2 separate regions of the Homo sapiens genome follow, and region 1 is linked to region 2. The links are contacts of gene promoters, found by promoter capture Hi-C in blood cells and fetal thymus (Javierre and others, 2016). All regions are on one chromosome and are shown on one strand. Each heading gives the region's core, a stretch centred on a gene start or on the middle of the fragment in contact. The rest is flanking DNA. Distances are from core to core; before and after follow the strand shown. Region 1 has its middle 61 kb from the start of LRRC8B. Region 2 holds the start of ZNF326 (zinc finger protein 326).

Region 1 (3,613 bases), core at 553-3,052, 530 kb before region 2:
CTCTAATTTCTTTTTCCTTTAAGGTACCTCCTTCCTTTACCTTTGCCCTTACACCCACACTCCCATCCCCAATTTGTACTCTGTCTTACATAACGTCATTCCTTTGAAGCCAGTGCTAGGTGACAGCTACCTAGGCTCATAAACTCATCTATGGCTTTAGGTGCTTTGCACTTTTCTACGGTTTTAACCATGAAAGTGACTGAGTATTCATTGGAAGGCTTTGGGTTTTTTCCAGTGAACTTATTTCAACACAGTCTTTCAGACTGCGTTGCCTTACAGCATAGACAGATGATGAAGGTGCTCCCTGCACTAATCTGCTGCTGTTATCCCATTAGCAAATGTTAGCTAAGCATTTACTCTGTGCTGGGTGTTGTGCTGCATGTTAGGAAGTCAAACAAGTAATACATGATCTCTTCCTTTAAAAAGGTTCCAGGTAACTAGGAAGTGACTAGAAGTTATTAAGCTCCACAGGTAACTTTCTAGGAATTTCGCCATAAGCAAGCAGTGTGTGTCTAAAATCTGCTGCAAAGTGTTATCATTCTCTTAATCCATGGTTGACACATGCATTCTTATCACCATTAAAACATTTTCAAAATGGCTGTTACCCCAACACACACTTTTACAGTTTTGTTAGTCCTTTTGCCCCCAGTGACTCTGTGGCCAGCCCTAGGCAGCACGGTTTTGTAGAGCATGCCCCAAATTCTGGGCTGAACTCAGCGTGACCCTTGCCTCATTTCTCCCATTGGCTCTTTCCAACTCCAGCATGCTTTGGATAGTTCAGTCCACACCTGGCAGAGACTAAGTACCGACTAATTGTTGACCTAAGATTTTTTCCCCCCAAGTTTAAGTTGAATCACTTTAAGTAAAATTTAACCAAACCAACCATCATATTCCTTAGTGTTGAACTGCTACAGTAATCAACTGATGCTTCTTCTATATTTACTAATTTCACATAATTGAGCATCTTCTGCAACTGGTTACTTTTCAGAAAGGCCAAATGAGACCATATAGGAAAGAATCTTTTTTATCTTGGGTGGGAAAGATCTTTTTAAGAAGACTCCAAAACAATTACACATCATAGAGGGAAAATCGTTGAATTTCTTTTCATTAAGGGAACCCTCAAATCCATAAAATACAGATGACTTGGCAAAGCTAGTTACAGCACCTAAAATTGATGTAATATCTACATCTGGGTATATGTAGAATATATAACATTATAATATATATATACACATATATATGTGATAAAGTTAGCAAAAGCCTGAGAGGTTTCAACAAGAAATTTTAAATGTATTAACCCAATAAAGAAGTAATATCTAGAACATTCAAGACATACCAACAAATTAACAAGCAACTAAAACAAAAAGCTAGTTAAGCCAATAATGAGCAAATAATTTATATCCATATAAATTATGCATACTATTTGTATCCATAGGATGGAAAAACCTGAAAACTAGTAAATATATAGTGCTCAACCCTACTAGTGTTAAAAAATTAAAAAATAAATCTGATACCACTTTGTAACTATCACCTGTAAAAAAAAAAAAAATCAGAGTCAGAAAACACTAAATGTCAGCAAACCAATGCTAAACAAGAACATTTGTTCTTCTGGTAGAAGAAGAAATGGTATAGTCTTTCTAGAGAGCAATCTGGCAATACTTGTACCATAAGCCTTCTTCCAACTGCTGAATGTATATCCCAGAGCAACTCTTTCCAACTTCTCTACAGGGACATGTAAATGCATAGGCATCTATGGCAGGGGATACTGAAGCACCCTAGATGACCATAGCCAGAGAGGAAAACTAACATGCTGGATGGACAAATCTTGAACAACACAAAAGTGAGTGGAAAAAAATAAGAAACATTAAATGTATTTTACATCCCATTTAATTAGAAACACACACGTATAAAATAATGCTATATGATTTTATATAAAATATGTACATTCAAAGACACATAGCAAGTGTGTTAAACAGGACTTATTGAAAAGGCAGGGGAAGAAATGGGAATGATAACTGGAGGGGAAAGATAAAAATATTAAAATTAAGGTAACAGTAAACAAAACTGGTCCCTTGCACAGATAAATATTGAGAAGTACACTGAGTTAGAAGCAAGGCTCAGCTTCAGTTGTGATAGCCTCATTTACTGAGACCTTGATCTGTACTAGTTATTGTACTAATCGCTTCACATATGTTATTTTAATCCTCACACAAAAACACGCACAGACATATAGAACTCATATTATTATTCCCATTTTACAGATGAAGAAGCAGAAACTCAGAGAAATTATATTTTTTGCCTAAGGTCAAACAGCTAGTAAGTGGTATAGCTGGGGTTTTAATGCAGGTCTACATGACTCTGAATCTCATACACTATATTATCTGCTATCTGTTCATATATTCAAGAAATAAGTGAAGGTACCAAAAATAAGTTCATTCTTTCTGACCGCATTCCCCAATCATCCATCATTGACCACTGTGGTTTCTTTGGTAGGCTGAATGATGCCCCTTAGATGTGCCCACATCCTGACCTCAAAAACCTCTGAATGTTTCCTTGTATGGTAAAAGAAACTTTGCAGGTGTGATCCAGTCAAGGATCTTGAGATGAGGGGCTTCTCCTACATTACTCAAGGAAGCACAATAAAGTCAAAAGGGTATTTACACGAAAGACATTGGAGAAGTCAGAGAGGAGTAGGAGACATGATGATGATGGAAGCAAAAGGTGGAAGTGATCCCAGGAAGGGGCCATGACCAAGGAGTGCAGGGGCCTCTAAGGGCTGAAAACGGCGAGGAAACTGATTTTTCCCTAGAGACTCCAGAAGAATCCAATGCCTTGATTTTAGCCCCATGAGACCCATTTTGGACTTCTGACCACCCTCCAGAATTGTAAGAGTTTATATTGTGTTCTTTAAACCACTAAATTTGTGGTAATTTGTTACAGTGGCAACAGGAAACTAATACACTTAGAAATCATTCAGATTCACTTCAAGATATTTCAAGCTGTCATAGGAGTAGTAGTTACATTTCCAACAGCGAACAATAGCTAAGTAATGCCAAATCCAGAACTAGAATCCAGATCTCTTGACCGCCTCAGTGCTAGGCTCTTTCCACTACACATAGCTGTCAACAAGTATAAGTCTCTGAAGTAATAGCTATAGAGAATTTAAAATCAAGTAAAATGTAGACATTAAAAGTGGACACCTTGTTTCCAAGGGAGCACTGTGGTTCTGTTACAGAGAATACCCCAAGATATACAAAGAAATCTTTCTGCACTTAAACTTCTATACTGGCTATTTGTGATGTAGAACAATTCAGGTTTGATTCACCTGCACTAGCAATGCTATCTACATATACGAATGTGTTCTTAATACAAATCACTTTTACAGGGCAAGGACAATTTTTAAAATGTATTATTGAATTTTGAAAATGTTAATAATGTTAAAAAAAATTACTGAATTTGAAATCAGAATGCAGTTCAACTCTCAACTCTGCCATTAGCTCTATGACCTGAAAAAGTCAGTTCACCTCTCTAGGTCAGATTACTTATCCATGGAATGGCCCGCATAGTCCATTACAGATCTCCTGTGCTAGACTAATGCAGGCAGTGCTCTCCT
Region 2 (3,711 bases), core at 237-2,736:
TTAGGCTGCTTTGGATCACAGTGCTTGTCAAAGCTCAGCTGCACGTTAGCCTCCATGGCCTGGATCTTGGCGGCGCTGTCCCAGTACAAACGCTTCATTTCGGCCTGGCGCCGCTCACCAGGCCTCTCAGCTGGGGCCTCTACCGACCGGCGGGTGTTGCAGTACAGGTCGTGTTCAGCGTTCACGTAGCTGTTCAGGCGCTCCGCATCCAGCTGTTGCCGCCGCAGTAGTTCTTCTCTGTGCCTCTCTGTCTCTGCAAAGTACTGGCGGAGCTCTTCGGTGATTTCCATATTGCTCAGGTCACATGCTACCTCTGCATCTGACTCGGTCTCCATCTCTTCCTCCTTGGATAAGGCTTGGTCTTCTCTTGTGGATGCCTGGATCCTACTGCTGCCATGTGGATGTTGCCCAGACCCTCTGAAATGTGAAGAACTGCAGGGGGAGTCCTGCTAGGCCACATGATGGTCATAGAAGGACTGAGGATACGCAGCCTGGTTATCGTAAGAGCTTTGGGGAAGAAGCGCAGGAAGGAAGAACCATGGAAGACTGAAACAGGATTCCACCGCCTTCCTGTAGGCATTGTGGTGGCTTTGCATCCAAGCCATTGCTTGATGATAATGTTGCCAGTATCTTGCATATACTGGATGAGAATACCAAGGCCTGGTAGCTTTTGATGTTGATGCCTTCACCACTGCCATCTCCGATTGTGAAAGTCCAAATGGGTGCCGAAACTTGTGGGCGCGCAGCTTGCAGATCCTGGGCGGTGGCCAAGCAGGCCATGTTTTAGAATTCTTTCCAGGCGGGTCGCATTGGCTCACGCCTGTGATCCTAACACTTTGGGAGGCGGAGACGGGGCTGGGGGTGGGGGGATCGCTTGAGTCCAGGAGTTGGAGACCTGCTTGGGCAACATGGCAAAACCCCCATCTCTATAAAAATAATTTAAAAATTTTTTAAAAGAATTATTATTTCCATTTTATTTCAGTGCTTTGTCCTTTAAGAAAATTTATTGACATAGCGATAATCAGACTCCATACGCTATTTTGTATCTTGCTTTTCAAATTTGCCACAGGCTTCTAGAAACGTCCCAGACTTCTGTGTCTCCATGGAGGAAACCCCGTAAGTACTTACAAATGTTATGATTAGTCATCCCTAGCCAATACTAAGCAAAAGGTAGGCATGCGGTTTTATTAGTTTGGGCAGGAAGAAGGCATTCCAACCGGCTTCTTTCGCTCTTGCCAGGTTCAAACATGGCGGGCCGCAGCCGGCCCTTCCCGTACACTCGGCTTGCTTTCCCACAACCCCCGCCAATCTTTAGCGCTCCTTTTTTACCTTCCTTCCCCGTCAGCGGCTCCAGAGGGTCAGCACCTCCGAGCGTGACAGCGGACCTGCTTCCCGCCCCCCACGCGAGGGCCCGCCCACCAGCCCGCGTCAGCCAATAGCAGGCCGCGCCGATGGGGCTGGTAGCGCCGGTCGGCCCCGCCTCCCCAGCCTCGCTGTGGCCTGCGGCTCCCGGGCTGGTAGCGCGCCGCTCTCGGTCGCGCGGAGTGATCGTGTGGAATCGCGGGTCGCGGACGCTCGCCGCCGGCCATAGCTCAGCCTAGCGCCGCCAAGGCCGACGGCCCTCAGCCTCTGCCATGGACTTCGAGGACGGTAAGCGCTGCCTCTGGCTGGTCGGCGCAGCTGGCAGGAGGCGGGGTGGCCTACGCAGGGGGTCTGTTTACCGTCTCAAGATGGCCGTGTGGGCTTTGTTCTGCGGGCCCGGAGGCCGCCCGCCCGCCCCGGGCCCAGCGCCCGGAGTCGGCCTCTTTGGGGACCCACGCGCCCCGATTCGGCCCGCTCGGCGCCCGCTGCCGGCGGAGACAAGAGAACTCGGTGTCCGGTAGGACGCGCCTAGAGCGCGAGAGCCTCCGGGCTGGAGCCCCAGACTCGCCTTGGCCCCTGGTAGTGGAAATTGCCCCGACGTCTCCAACTTCCCGGTCTCGGGCAAACGGGCGAGTGCGGCCTCACCCACCTAGTCTCGCATTCGCCCCACAGGGCAGCGACCCAGACCGTCCGTTTAGTTAATCCTCAGCCTCGGGTTACTTCTTGCCAGATAGAATTTTCAGAGGCTTGTTCACAGTGATGTTTCTGTTTGTCCCGGTTTAAGATGAGTTGAAAGGGTGTCTGTAAGTGATATGTATAGATAAATATCTATGCAAAATGGAAAGCAAGATGTTTCCTGGTTAGTAAACTGGGGTGTTTATCACCAAAAATTACCTGCTTATTAATCCCTAACTTGAAATATTTATGTGAACCAAAGCACTTTTCTTTGGATCGTGTGTAGGTAGGATTTAAGTTAATCAGAATTTTGGCACAGCAAGCATCAAATGTCCTTCACATTTAGACCTGTACACAGCCTTGTAAGTGTTTGACTTACGGATTAAATAAACTGTATTTTAGCAATACTTTTCAGTTGTCTCAGATACTAATTCTTTAAACCACTTTTACAGGGTCACAAAGTAATATTAATTTGGTCTTCACTTTTGTTTTCAAACCTTGCTTGGAATTGGTGTCAAGATAAAGTGGTATGTAGTGACAACATTAGGGAGACATGGGAAAGGACTTATGTGATTAAACTGGATTTAATCCTGAGTAACCAGGCATGCTTAAGTAAAACCAGTTCACTAAGTAGGCTGTAAACTTTTAACCCCACCAAAAAAATGATCTTTAAATGAGGTGTGATCTCAGCATATGTCTTACTCGATGAGCTTTTGATTTTTCATAACATTTCATGCAACAAAGAATTAAAGCTTTCATATCTAGGTACAGATTTGTGAAAGGGGACTGGAATAGCCCTCTTGTAGATACTTTTCAGTTACTTTGAAATAGTAAGTTCAGCTCTTAAGAGTAGCACACTCTCGTGGTTTTGTTTGTTTTGGTTGGACTTTAACTCATTTTGATGTAGATACCTTTAAACTATGAATATTTGGGCTGGGCACGATGGCTCACACCTGTAATCTCAGCACTTTGGGAGGCGGAGGCAGAAGAATCCCTTGAACCCGGGAGGCGAAGGTTGCAGTGAGCCGAGATCGTGCCATTGCACTCTAGCCTGGGCAACAAGAGCCAAACTTCGTCTGAAAAAAAAAAAACAAAAAACCAACAACAAAACAAAAAACTATGAATATTTGAAGTGGCCAGAGTTGGGAGTGAAAATAAAAAATATATTATTGTATTTTCATGCTGTAGTTTGATGATAATGCCAACACCCAAGGTATAGCAGAGGCTAACAAAGTGGAGGTGGGGCAGTAGAAACAGTTCTTTCCACTCCCCACCCAAGGCAATAAGGGAATCCATTTCTATGGAGAATTGAAAAACAATAATAAAATGTAGTATGTCTGCTTTCTGTTATTGCCATATGCCAGAATTCTAAACAGTGTCAGTGATAGAAATTCTAAACAATATTAGTGATGAAATACGCCCTGTCTCACTGCCCAAATATACCACTGCTGTATTTGGAAGATGGAGTTTGACTAACACCATATATGAATCTATTCCTGTATAGTGTAGCAGGATTCTGTTGTATCCAGATGACCACTATATTAAATTCTGTTCTTTCAGTATATATTTGTAAAATTAACTAAAGAATTTAACAGTTGTTAAATTAGTTTTGATGAGGAAATTGGCAATATGGTTTTCAGTGATGACACATTCTGCTTGAATATAGAACACAGT

The links. The method cuts DNA at HindIII sites, captures the fragments that hold promoters and counts their contacts. A CHiCAGO score of 5 or more calls a contact.
Region 1: a fragment that was not itself captured here is called in contact with the fragment with the promoter of ZNF326 in region 2 in 3 of 17 cell types (naive CD8 T cells, naive CD4 T cells and total CD4 T cells); the score reaches 6.2 in naive CD8 T cells.

What each region holds. Positions count from the first base shown.
Region 1 is chr1:89,461,679-89,465,291 of GRCh38, forward strand. No RefSeq gene overlaps it. Among named protein-coding and RNA genes, the nearest start is that of LRRC8B, 61 kb to the right of the region's middle. The HindIII fragment of the contact is 6,077 bases long and covers 1-3,613 here.
Region 2 is chr1:89,993,624-89,997,334 of GRCh38, forward strand. It overlaps ZNF326 (zinc finger protein 326), which reads left to right and starts at 1,487. Exons shown (of 12, transcript NM_182976.4): 1 at 1,487-1,650. The coding sequence starts at 1,635. It also overlaps the pseudogene GEMIN8P4. RefSeq lists enhancers at 1,139-1,705, 1,706-2,271, 2,153-2,202 and a silencer at 1,293-1,932. The HindIII fragment of the contact is 7,808 bases long and covers 1-2,787 here.